Linked DNA regions of Homo sapiens: region 1 is linked to region 2. The links are contacts of gene promoters, found by promoter capture Hi-C in blood cells and fetal thymus (Javierre and others, 2016). All regions are on one chromosome and are shown on one strand. Each heading gives the region's core, a stretch centred on a gene start or on the middle of the fragment in contact. The rest is flanking DNA. Distances are from core to core; before and after follow the strand shown. Region 1 overlaps ATPAF1 (ATP synthase mitochondrial F1 complex assembly factor 1). Region 2 holds the start of EFCAB14 (EF-hand calcium binding domain 14).

What was found. Contacts are between HindIII fragments. The CHiCAGO score rates a contact against its expected background, and 5 or more counts as called.
Region 1: a contact is called between a fragment that was not itself captured here and the fragment with the promoter of EFCAB14 in region 2, in 2 of 17 cell types (megakaryocytes and erythroblasts). The highest score is 6.0, in megakaryocytes.

Annotation. Positions count from the first base shown.
Region 1 is chr1:46,628,267-46,634,897 of GRCh38, reverse strand. It overlaps ATPAF1 (ATP synthase mitochondrial F1 complex assembly factor 1), which reads left to right. Exons shown (of 9, transcript NM_001394565.1): 9 at 1-2,161. Among named protein-coding and RNA genes, the nearest start is that of MOB3C, 15 kb to the right of the region's middle. The HindIII fragment of the contact is 1,030 bases long and covers 3,177-4,206 here.
Region 2 is chr1:46,713,923-46,720,821 of GRCh38, reverse strand. It overlaps EFCAB14 (EF-hand calcium binding domain 14), which reads left to right and starts at 1,708. Exons shown (of 11, transcript NM_014774.3): 1 at 1,708-2,919; 2 at 4,379-4,527. The coding sequence starts at 2,735. RefSeq lists silencers at 1,484-1,533, 1,854-1,903. The HindIII fragment of the contact is 11,051 bases long and covers 1-3,228 here.

The DNA.
Region 1 (6,631 bases), core at 2,442-4,941, 88 kb after region 2:
AAATAATGAAATCTGAGTTATGTACTGTCCATTGTGTCAGGGCTATGGGCTGATTTTATCAAAACTCATCTTGGGACTGAAAAATTGTTTGGAATGCCAGAAATAAGAAAGTTGTTCTCCAGAGCTGGAAACCCATCTTTCGTTTGTAGTGTCACTGTTGTGGCTCCAAGCTCAGTGATAGGAAAGGACGGTGGTTACACACCAGCCTTCTGAACCCAAGGCCCCCAGTATTGTTGTCAGCTGCCTTTACCATGGCATTTCTTTCTCTTTCTTTTTTTCCTGAGATGAAGTCTTGCTCTGTCTTGCCCAGGCTGGAGTACAGTAGCGTGATCTCAGCTCGCTGCAACCTCTACCTCCCTGGTTCAAGTGATTCTGCTGCGTCAGCCTCCTGAGGAGCTAGGATTACAGGCGCATGCCACCATACCTGGCTTATTTTTGTATTGTTGTAGAGACAGGGTTTCACTTTGTTGGCCAGGCTGGCTGGTCTCGAACTCCTGGCCTCAAGTGATCCACCACCTTGGCCTCCCAAAGTGCTGGGATTACAGGTGTGAGCCACCGTGCCTGGCCTGACATTTCTTTATTGATCTAACATGCTCCACTCTGCTGCTCCTGCCTAAGATCTGGTTATATGACACTGAATGTGGTGAGTGGGAATTTAAGCAGTATTCGCAGTTTGTGTGTGTGTGTTTTCTTCCTTCCAGAAGAATTTTTATAGGTTGGGCCTGTCCCTAAGCTCTTTAAATAGGGTGGACATCCCACTATTCTCTGAGCCGTGTCTATTTTGTTGCACCTTTGAGTCTATGTATTGAGAGAGACAGATAGTATTTTTTTAAACTGGGGAAGCTGCTATCCTTTCACTATTTCTCTAAAGGTTGAGCTGTTAACTAATGTAAATTCTGGACCTGCTTCTGGTCCTGGCAGTTTATCTTTTGAGAAACTTGAGTCTTATCTGCCCTGCCATTTTCATTAAATGCCTTCTGACCTTCTGAATGTTTTGGGTCCCAAGAATTTTTGACATCAGATGGGGTTGTTTTTATTGGTATCCAGTTATGTTTGCTTGTCTTTCCAGATGGGCCCAGTTATTAGCCATACATAGTACATTGATACACCTCCACCAGCGGGTGAGGAAATGATGGAAAAAGGAGTAAGAAGTGGCCATTCGTTTTAATCATTCCTCCTGGATTTGTCCTCAGTCCCCAACTGCCAAGTAGGATGTGTCCATGGATAAATGTGTGGGGCATGACTAAAGTACCACGTAGCTGTTCTTTATATTTATTTACCTAGAAAGATCTGGCAAAGAACTCAAAGAAAATTGTACCATTTAATCAGTAAATTTGTCCCCTGGTGCTAGCATGGTGTTATAGAAAGTGGACAGGCTTTAGAGTTAAGTGAATCTGGGTTCATATGTTAGTGTTGCTATTCATTAGCTCTATACTGTTGAACAAATTGCTTAAACTATCTAATTTTGGGGTTTTTTTTCCATCTAAAATAGGGATAATAATATCTACCTCATAGGATTATTGTGAGAATTAAATTAACTTCACTATAGTAGAAAATATCAACTACCATCCTTTTCTCTACTTCCCTTGCCCCTCATTAAAGACTAATACAAGTTAGCATTTCAGATGTGTAGATCATTCTTTATTCCAGTTAAAAGAACAAACTTTATCTCATCAGTTCTGAAACTTTAAGATGCAGTAGCATCACCTAAAGTGCTTTTAAAATGCAGATTCTCAGGCCTCAACCGTACACCACCCCCCCACACACGTACTAAATCAAGAATATGTGCAGAAGGTACTGGGAATCTACTTGTTAATATGTGCTCCAAATGATTCTGATGTAGGTAATTAGCCAGCCACACTTTGAGAACCACTGCCTTATCTATTCTTTACAAAAATGTACATTGCCAGGTCTTTCTTTCCTGTGGATGCTAACTATAGGATATTTAGGTTCCTCTGTTCTTTGTCTCCCATAGTGGCCCCCTTTGCAAACTCCAAATACATTATATTTATTTATTCTTGTGTCTTTTTTCCCCCACTAGACTGTGAGCTCCTTGAGGGCCAGGACTTATCTCTGTTCGCAGTGCCAAGGACATGGCCTGGACCATAGAAGATACTCAGTTTTTTGTTGAATAAATAGGTAATATGGATTTCAACCAAAACATTGTCTTGTGTATGTACCTGCATGTAAATACTCTAGATTTAAAAGAATCTCTTAATACACATAGATCGAGAATTTGTTGAGTAGAAATATTTGCAAACCAAGATACCAAGTTATACACAGTTCTCTGTACCTCACCTAATCCACTGGCATTACCTTGGTGGACCATTACACAGTACAACTTAACAGCTGCTCACAGAGCATCTATTCTGCAGCCACTATGTTAAGTGCTGGACACAGAAAGATGAGTAGAGTATGATTCCTGCTCGCAGGCTCTGTTTTAGCCACTGCCTGTTTCTCTCTTGCCTCTGATTCAGTGCCTCACACCTACACCTGATTATAGTTTGCTTTGTCTAGTTCTTGGATGTTCATACTGGTACTTCTTTCTTCTCCAACCAGTTTGGAAGCTGGAGCCACATGTTTTGCTTTGCACTCTCCATACTGACCTTTTGTTCAGTCTTGGAGAAGAGGTACTAATGCCCACTTCCTAGTCATTTGATTTGGCATTGAGTCAGCATTCATTCACACTTATTGAGCACCTTTTTGCCAAGCACTGTTATAAAAAACTGGATAATATAGCAATGAACATGGCAAATAAGGCTCCTGTTCTCATGTAGTTTATATTCTTGTAAAGAAGACAAGTAAATCAATAAAATTATTTTACATACTGGTAGTGCTATGAAAATTTAAAAATAATATTTTAGACTATGGAGTGGAGGCAATAACTTAATGGTCAGGAGAGGCATCTCTGCAGCAGTGGCAGCTGATACATGAGCTGGGGAAAGAGAACCAGGTAAAGAGAACAGCAAGTGTTAACGCCCCGGAGCAGAGCCAAGCTAGGAATGCTTGTTTCTGGACAAATATAAAGATTCAGTATCTACCCTTTAGGAGCCTACAGTTCAGCGGCATGACCTGACATGAATGATTACAATACAAGACAAACTGATCAATGCCGTCTCAGAAGGGGCAAAGAGAGTTAAGGAACTCCCCCCGCATGCTATGGAGGATGCAAAGCTTGCCAGGCTCTGGTACCCACCCATGAAGCACTTATGGCTTAATGGGGAATAACAGGTAGACAGTGTTAAAGTCTCAAAGGCTATATGTTTCTTGCAATAGACAAGAGGTACTGTGGGTTCAGTGCTGGCCTCCCAAGCTACAGTCACGTACTACATAACAATGTTTTGGTCACGTTAGATTGCATATGCAACTGTGGTCCCATAAGATTATAATGGAGCTGAAAAATTCCTATTGCCTAGTGACATCATAGCTGTGGTAATGTTATAGCACAATGCATTATGTGTTTGTGGTGATGCTGGTGTAAATCTACTACACCAGCATAGTGTATAGGGGTATAGGGTATAAAAGTATAGTGTACAGGGGCCGGGTACGGTGGCTCACGCCTGTAATCCCAGCACTTTGGAAGGCCGAGGCAGGTGGATCCCTTGAGTTTAGAAGTTCAAAACCAGCCTGGACAGCATAGCGAGACCTTGTCTCTACAAAAAAAATTTAAAAATTAACTGAGCGTGGTGGTGCACGCCTGTAGTCCCAGCTACTCAGGAGGCTAAGGTGGGAGGATCACTTGAGCCCGGGAGGTTGAGGCTACAGTGAGCTGGGATCACACTGCTGCACTCCGGCCTGGGCCACAGAGCAAGACCCTATCTCAAAAAATAAAAAGGTATAGTGCATAAAACTATGTACAGTACATAATGCTTGATAGTAAATGACTATTACTGGTTTATGTATTTACTGTATTATTTAGAGTGTGCTCCTTCTACGTATAAAAAATACTAAGTCAATTGTAAAACAGCCTCAGGCAGGTCTCTCAGGAGTTGTTCCAGAAGAGGGCATTGTTCTTATAGGAGAGGACAGCTCCATGTGTGTTATTGCCCCTGAAGACCTTCCAGTGGGACAAGATGTGCAGGTGGAAGTCAGTAATGTTGATGATCCTGACCCTGTGTAGGCCTAGGCTAATGTACATGTTTGTGTCTTAGCTTTTAACCAAAACATTTAAAAAGTAAAAAATAAAATTTTTTAAAGAAAAAAGCTTACAGAATAAAGATAGAAAATATTTTATACAGCTATACAGTGTGTTTTAAGCTAAGTGCAATTATAAAATAGTCAAAAGTTTTAAAAATTAAAAAGTTTATAAAGTTAAAAAGTTATAGTAAGCTAAGGTTATTGAAAAAAGAAAAATATTTTTATAAATTTAGTGTACAGTGTTTATAAAGCCTACTGTAGTGTACAGTAATGTCCTCCTCAGTCTTCATATTCACTCAGAACTCACTCACTGACTCATCCAGAACAACTTCCAGTCCTGCAGGCTCCATTCATTGTAAGTGTCCTATACAGCAATATCATTTTTTATCTTATACTGTATTTTTACTGTACCTTTTCTATGTTTAGATACGATAGATAAGTATTTACCCTTATATTACAGTGTCCACAGTATTCAGCACAGTAACATGCTGTACAGGTTTGCAGCCTAGGAGCAATAGGCTATATGCCATCTAGGTTTGTATAAATACATCCTATGATGTTTGCACAACAACCAAATCACCTAATGATACATTTCTCAATGTAGTCTCCATTGTTAAGCAACACTTGACTATATACACATTAACAATAACCACTAACATTTACTAAGGGCTAACCATATACCAGGCACTGTGCTAAGCCCTTACATGGATTATCTCAATCCTACCAACCCTATGAGGTTGGCAGGAACCTGCTGGTCAGTGACATGTGCTGCTCTCTCCTTGTACCCTCATGCCCCAACTCCAGCTCAGAAAAGAGAGCAACCAGCCAGGCACAGTGGCTCATGCCTGTAATCCCAACACTTTGGGAGGCCAAGGTGGGCCGATCGCTTGAGACCAGGAGTTAGAGACCAGCCTGCTCAACATAACGAAACCCCCTCTCTACTAAAAATACAAAAATTAGCTGGATGTGGTGGCACACACCTGTAATCCCAGCTACTCAGGCTGAGGTACGAGAATCACTTGAACCTGGGAGGTGGAGGTTGCTGTGAGCCCAGATTGTGCCACTGCACTCCAGCCTGGGTGACAGAATGAGACCCTGTCTCAAAAAAAAAAAAAAAAAAAAGTAAGTCATGGTTGGCTCTGGAACCAGCCCTGAGAAACATGTCTCCCAATTTTCTTGCTGGTAACTAAAGAACAAAATGCATGCATTATATACCTCTGATTCCTCCAGACAATTTTGCAAGACATCATGTTCTAACTAGGGAAGACTTCCTTCGGAGAACTTTGGTCTTGTCAATTCTTCTGATGTGACAGGTTGATAACAACATCTTTATCCTTGTTCTGCTAAAAGGGAGAGTAGGAGCACAGAAAGGGAAGAGATGACTTCAAGGTTGCTGTCTGCATCAGGAGCCAACCCAGGAATAATAATAAGTGTGTCCATGCTCCACACTTAATAGGATCATTTGTAATGTCCACTGAGCAGGCTCATTCTTCACATTCACTTGAACAGGGCTACTTCTACGCTCTTCAGGCTTTAGGAACTGGAATATCTACAAGAAAAATTGGTTCAAACCACTTAAGAATCATTACAGGTTCCCTAGGGCTTTCTGGACAAAGTCCTTTTAGATCAGCTCACAGGAGCTTCAGGATCCAGTGCATGGTGTCTTTTCCAGGCTCATTTTGTGCCTCTCCTACCTACTCCTTTGGCTCCAGCCATTCTGGATAACTTGCAGTTCCCTAAACACATTGTGCTCTTCCTACCTCTGTTCTGCTCTTTTCTAATACATTTGCCTGCTTCAAATGCCCATTCCTCCTTAAGTTAATTCAAAGCTTCACTGTAGTATCCCTATGAGAAGCCTTCCCTGAGACCTATTCCCCTCCACATGGCCCCCCTGCAAGGCTGGCTTCCCCACCAGAATGAATAGCCCTTGGAGACTGGGATCATATCTTACTGGACATTATATTCCAAGTGTCCAGCACGAAACCCGGCAGAGGGATAAGATACTCTGTGGATGCTGAACAAACTCCGTTTGAGTGACCACTAAACTCAGACCACCTGAGCCTACAAACATCGCTTGCACAGTGAGATCCAGCTCTGGCAAACACATTGTGGTTATGTCCCAGCCCAAGACAGTGGTCATTTTGCTTGCTCTTATTGCAGAGGCTGCATATGGAAAACCAAGCCAAGGGACCAACAGAGAAGGCAGTCAGGTCCAGGGTTTGTAAGCAGAAAGAACTGAGAGATGATGATGTGAACAAACTTTTGGAGCAAAACAATTATTTTAAGTACCAGGCTGGCACTTTCAAGTTCTTGTCTTGCCTTGCCAAACCTTAACATTAAAAAAGACCTGGTTGGGTTGGTGGCTTACGCCTGTAATCCCAGCACTTTGGGAGGCCGAGGCAGGCAGATCACGAGGTCAGGAGATCAAGACCATCCTGGCTAACATGGTGAAACCCCGTCTCTACTAAAAATACAAAAAAATTAGCCAGGTGTG
Region 2 (6,899 bases), core at 459-2,958:
TCTACCCCATCTCAATAAATAACAATTCCTTGCTTCCAGTGTTTCCACCGCCAAACCCTCTCTTCTCTTCACACCTTTCATCTAATCTATCAGCAAAAATTGTCAGCTCTGTCTTCAAGAAACATCCAGAATGCTCTCCATCTCTGCTACTGCCTCTCTAATCTATCAGCATCATCTCTAGCTGGACTGTAACAAACTGCTCTCCTGTGTTCCTCACTCTCCCCCCACTTTTTTCTACAAAGTAGCCAGAGTAATTTTTTCCTTTATTTTATTTTATTTTATTTATTTATTTATTTATTTATTTATTTATTTATTTATTTATTTATTTATTTTTGAGACGGAGTCTCGCTCTGTTGCCAGACTGAAGTGCAGTGGTGCAATCTCGGCTTGTTGCAACCTCCGCCTCCCGGTTTCAAGCCATTCTCTTGCCTCAGCCTCCCAAGTAGCTGGGATTACAAGCGCGCACCACCACGCCCAGGTAATTTTTGTATTTTTAATAGAGACAAGGTTTCACCATATTGGCCAGGATGGTCTCCATCTCCTGACCTTGTGATCCGCCCACCTCAGCCTCCCAAAATGCTGGGATTACAGGCGTGAGCCATCGCGCTGGCCCAGAGTGAATTTTTTTTTTTTTTTTTTTTTTTACGGAAAAGCCAGAGTATGCTACCTCTCAGCTTAAAGCCCCCAGTGCTTTCCCAAAGTCCTTTCAGTGATCCATAAGGCCCTAAAGCCCTGGCCTCTGATGCTTCTCTGACCTCATTTCCTATCACTCTGCTCCTTGCTCTTCTGGTCCAGCCACAACAGGTCTTCCTGGTCACTCCTTCCTGCAGCCACTGCACAGCTCATTCCCTCACCTCTCCTCCGATAAGCTGACTAAATGTTCCCTTTTCACAGAGGCACTCCCCATCACCTGACCGTGTTTCAATTTTCATCATAACACTTATCACCTCCTGACATTTAATATGTTTGCCTATTGTTGCTCTCCTCCCTCTAGAGTATAAATAAACTGCAGGAATAGATTGGCAGATAAGATACACGATGCTCAGTTAAACTTGCATTTCACATACACAATGAATAATTTTTTAGTGTGAGGATGTCCCAGATGTTGCATGGGATGTCTTAATGCTAAAAAATTGTTTGCTGTTTCTCTGAAATTCAAACTTTACTGGGTGTCCTACATTTTTATTTGCTAAATCTGGCAACACTATACAGGAAGACAAGGACCCTGGTTATTTTGTTCATGGCTGTATCCCCAGCGCTAGAACAGCTCCTGACACGTAGTAAGTAAGCTCTCAATAAATATTTATTGACTGAATGAATGTGTTAATTAATCTGAAACGCGCCTAAACTTTTAACAGCCTGTGTGAGAGTCAGAGAGGCGGAGCCTTCAGACTTGGTTAGTCCAGGGGGCGTGGGCGGCTGATGAACTTTCGAAGTAGGTCGAGCAGCCGGGCGCTTTGCCTGCCCCGCCCGCGCTCCGCAGGATGCAGGACTCCACCCGGCTCAGGTTCGCAGCAGGTCCCGGAAGCCCTCCTGGGGGCGGGGCCACCCTAATCGGCAGGTGGGACCCAGCCCCAGCCGGGGCAGGGCCCCTTTAACGCCCCACCTCTCCGCCACGACTTTCGCCCCGGCGTGACGTCACCCCAGCGGGCGACCAATGGGAGTGCGGCTTACTGGCAGGCGGCGCAGGCGGCCGCTGCCAAAGGGGAAGTGATCTGGGGCTGGAGCGATGGCCCGGGGCTGGAGCTCGCGGCCGCCGCCGCCGCAGCCGCCGCCACCAACGCCAACAACAACGTGTCGGGAGCAGCCGCGGCCGAAGCCGGAGCAGGGGCCGGAGTCGCGGCTGGAGTGGGGCCTGCGCGTGTGAGTGGCCGAGAGTTGCCCGTGCCGGAGACCTCAAACTCCGGGCGGGAGCGCTTTCGGTCGGCCGAGCCGCCGTCGCCCGCGGCACCGTGTCCCCAAGGCCCAGACAGCGGGGCGGGGGTCTATCAGGCGCGGGACTGGCTTCTCTCAGGCCGACCCTTCTAGCCGGGCTCCGGATCTTCCTCGGCCTCGGGCCCCCTTCACGTTCAGGACGGAGGCCGGAGAACGGTGATCATCACACACCCCAGCCGGCTTCCTGGCCAGGGCATTTTCTCTGCGGCCAAGCAGTGTTGGGATTGTAGCTGCTGGGAGCCCCCTCCTGCCGCCACCTCTCCTGCAAGGAAGGGACTGACGCGTTCCCACTTTCTTACTCTGCACCTCCCCACTCTCTTCCCATTCAAGAACGAGTTTCTCTTCCCTCTCCATTGGAAATCTTGCTCCGGAGGTCCGAAACACGTATTTTAAGCGTGCCCTTCCTCACCTCCTGGAGCACCCTTAGAAGTATTGCCTACTTATCCGGGCTGAGAATCCTTCATTTTTGACCTGGCTTTTTTTTCGCCCTTTGGGAGATAAAGGTCCCTCTCCACCCTCTACTAACACTCTGCACCCAAGGCCTTATCCTTTGGGGTCACCAGCTCCTTGGCCATTTCTATGTGATTTCCCCCACCCATCTGAGTTCCAGTTTCCTCTGGGCTCCAATCTCCAGTCCCTGGCGGATCTGGTCAGTCCCACCCCTAGGTGGGAGTGACCAGGGGGCTCTGGCCCAGGATTCCCAACCCTGGAAGGCAGCTCCAAGGCAGGAAGAGAATTGGGCATCGGGTACGAACCTGGCAGCTCAGGAGTCGGGGCTCCACTCACCCCACACAAAAAGATGAAAAAGCGCAAAGAGCTCAATGCATTGATTGGTTTGGCTGGGGACAGCCGGAGAAAGAAGCCCAAGAAAGGCCCAAGCAGTCACCGCCTGCTTCGCACTGAGCCTCCCGACTCAGACTCTGAGTCCAGCTCCGAAGAGGAAGAGGAATTCGGTGTGGTTGGAAATCGCTCTCGCTTTGCCAAGTGAGTAGTGGTGAAAGGTGGAATGGGAAGAAGGCATCTCCTTGCACTACCAAGGGGCCACATTGACAGGAAGGAGAAAGGAAGTCCTTAGGAAGAAAAAAGGGTGTAGGCCTTGGAAGTCAAAGAGGGAAAAACGGTTTTAGGGAGAAGGTAAGTTCAGATCCTGAATGAAGAATAAGTTAGAGATCTGTCTTTAGGTGTAGAAAGAAAAGCTCCAAATCTGAGGTGGAAATGTGGACTTGGAGAATGTGCCAAGAGCCCAGGGAGTCCTAAAGAAGCAAAGAATGGAGACAGAGGAGCAGAGAAGCTTTGGGGACTAGACTTTTTAAAACAGTGTAGAACAAAGGAGAAGCAGAGACTTTAAGACTGCAGATTATTTCGTTTTTGCACTCTTGATGAGTCTGAATATTGGTGGTGGGGAAATATGGTGAGAGATATACTGTAGGAAGTATGAGCCTTGAGAGTAGGTGGGGTCGGGGGGCAAAAGAAGAGGCATCATTTTCCCTAGCCATTCATAGGTGGAGAGACCACTAGGCAAATCAAGTAGTAAGATTTGAGGACATTGGGATTGGGGCTCAGGATGGGAAAGGACTAAAGGGAACTTCAAAAACGTCCTTTGACTCTCTCAGAGCACACTAAAAGAAAAGAGGATTCTGCTGAGGATGTAGAAACAATGGCTAGGCAGAAGGTCGGGGTGCTGACATTGAGTGGTTGGTTGGTTTAAAATGTCTTGTTTTGTTAAAGGAAGAGTTTGATTTCTAATGAGCTTTGTCAGCTAAGGCTGTTAAGGGCAATCCTGGGTTTGGGTTATGAAGATCAGTTGAAGTGTTACCTTCATCAGAAGGTACCTGGAGTAGTAACCCTACTAAGTTAGTTTAGACCTTGAAGGTTGGTTGATGTTTTGTGTGAAATCCAGCCCCTTCTATGTTTCCTTACTTCTGAGCCAATAAGCTAGAATACACCAGGTGTCCACTTAAAACTACAGATCCTGTTTCTTTCATTTCTTTTGCAGTAAAACTTGCTCAAAAGTTTATAAAGTTTCAGTAAACTGGAGCAAGGTTCCCCGGAGTGAGTATGTATTTCAGAGAGAAATCAATAGGCAAATTCCAGTGCAGAGATGGAATTGCAGAGAAACATTGGTCTTTACACTTTTGTGACCTGAGCTTGTATTCAAAGACCTCCCTCCTGATAATGACAGCTGCAGTGCCTTTAGGTTCTTCCTTTTACCTGCAGGAACTCCTTCTGTTTTATGTGACATTTGAAACCTTTGTATCCAGTAGATGAACCCTTAATAGGTCATATTATTTATTCATTTAAGTGCTTTACCCTGCCTCCCCTGGTTAATTCACTGGTTATTCATTTAAAGGAGATAATTGCATGGCAAAACGTGTACTATTGCTAATAAAGCTATACCCATAATCACTTTTGTACTCATGGTTGAATTTGTCCTCTTGAGCAGGGGAGACTATTTACGATGCTGCAAGATCTGTTATCCGCTCTGTGGTTTTGTCATCCTTGCTGCCTGTGTTGTGGCCTGTGTTGGCTTGGTGTGGATGCAGGTTGCTCTCAAGGAGGATCTGGATGCCCTCAAGGAAAAATTTCGAACAAGTAAGTAAGTGGTTACTCTCTTTTTTTTTTTTTTTTTTTTTTTTTTGAGACAGGGTCTTGCTCTGTCGCCTAGGCTGGAGTACAGTGGCGCAATCTCGGCTCACTGCAACATCCGCCACCCAGGTTCAAGTGATTCTCATGGTCAGCCTTCTGAGTAACTGGGATTACAGGTGTGTGCCACCACACCCAGCTAATTTTTTTGTCTTTTTAGTAGAGACGGGGTTTCACCATGTTGGCCAGGCTGGTCTCAAACTACTGACCTCAGGTGGTCCACCTACCTCGGCCTCCCAAAGTGCCAGGATTACAGGCGTGAGCCACCACACCCAGCAGTGGTCACTCTTTTCAGGGTGTAATCCTGGACTCCTTTCCAGGTTCTGGGACAAAGTCAACCCTGCTGAACGAAGATTTTTGCCCATTCTAGTGAAGCAATTATACGTTCCTCTCAGTATTTTTATACTCTTTTTGAGCTCTCTGCTTGAATGTTGTAACACTTATTTGTTTTTAAACTCACAAATAAAAGGCAGTGCTTATGCACCAGCAGGACAAGTAGCATCTGAAATAATGGCATTGCAGTCAATGCTTAGCGTGCAAAAGGCAAGAGACTCCTACCCTAGGGGTAGGAGTCTAGAACTTGGTGTAACCTCTACTTATGGCTTGCATCTCCCCAAGCATAAAGTGGCAATGACAACACTGGGCTATTCCTTCCACCTCACAGGGCCATTTGAGAAAGAATGTGGGAGCATCTGTCAAACGATTGCCTCTTTAGAAGGACTGAATAGGAGCATAGGAATGGGCAATAATAAGAGTAGCTAACATTTGTGGAAGGCCTACTCTGTGCCAAGTCTCAAATCATTTTCTTTACAAAATAATCCGGTGAGATGGGTATTATTTTTATTATTTTGTGCTCTTAGAAGGATTAAGTAATTTGTTCAGTGATTAAGTATGACAGAGCTGAGCGTCCTCTTGCCCCTTGCTGCCCAAATTCACATTTATAACACTACTGTCTGCACCACTGTTCCTGGTGGCCTTGTAAGCCTATGCACATTTCTTCAAGTGCCTACAGATCTCTTTGATATCAACTTGGTCAGTAATCTAAAAGAAGTTTAGTAGAAGAAACAGGAAGAACTGGTTTTCTGCATACTTATCAGTTTTCAAGCTTAGAGCAAGGACTGATAGATTTCTCTCCTTAGCTGTGCTTATACTAGTAACACGATCTCTTTCAAGAAAAAAACATTTAAATACCATTAATGAGTGTTATCATTTTAAAGTTTTAGGAAACTTGAACTAAGTTACATACTCGTGAAGGGCTTACAACAACCATACCTACTTTGAACACTGTGCAACTGTCAGAAATGTTTATCTCATGAGTGAGTTTTAAAGTTTAAGGAGGTTTTGAAGTCACAGAGTTTTGTATATTCTAAATTGTAAAGTTATATTTTACACATCCAAATTACTTTTTCATTTCTTTTTCTTTCTTGTTTTTTTTTTTTTTTGAGATAAGGTCTTGCTTGCTCTGTCACCCAAGCTGGAGTGCAGTGGCATCTGGCTCGTTGCAGCCTTGACTTCATGGGCTCAAGCAGTCTTCCCGTGTCAGCACCCCACACCCCCAATCCCAATAGCTGAAACTACAGGCACGCGCCACCCTCTGCTAATTTTTGTATGTTTGTAAAAGACAGGGTTTTGCTATGTTGCCCAGACTGGTCTCGAACTCCTGGGCTCAAGTGATCTGCCTGCCTCAGCCTCCCGAAGTGCTGGAATTACAACTTTGAGCCATTGTGCTCGGCCCAAATTACTTTTTCCAAAAGGTATGTTTGCATAATAGCTTTGACCGAATTTAACATAGAATTTTTTTTTTTTTTTTTTTTAGCAACACTGAAACTTTTGGCTCTAGGTTTAAGGGTTAATCTTCTAAGCAAAGGAACCAGTTTCAACTTAATCACAAATACCCTAACCTTAATAGCATGAGCACACCAGGAAACTGACCACAAGGCTTTCTCAAGGTCATAAAGAAATCTGGCTCCAGAACTGGAATTAAAGTTCTTACTTTCGATCTTAAGCCTAGATTACAGTATCCTCACTTTCCCATCTGAAGCCTAGAAGATTGCAATATCCCAACTTCTCTTGGCTGCCTACAGTTACTCAAGTTTTGAACCCAGCCTAAGAACAGCTAATTTTTAGTGTGTTAATGATGTTTCTAGTGATGTTGCTTAAAAAAAAAATACTGACTTTGGTTTTCTTCTGAGTTTCTGATTCTGGGGCTGGGGATTCAGTATGCCACAATTCTCTGCCAGAATCCTAACCTGGATTACCAATTTTTAGAGTATGATATAAGAAACAATGAGATATATACCCCATATTTATTTTTCCTCCTT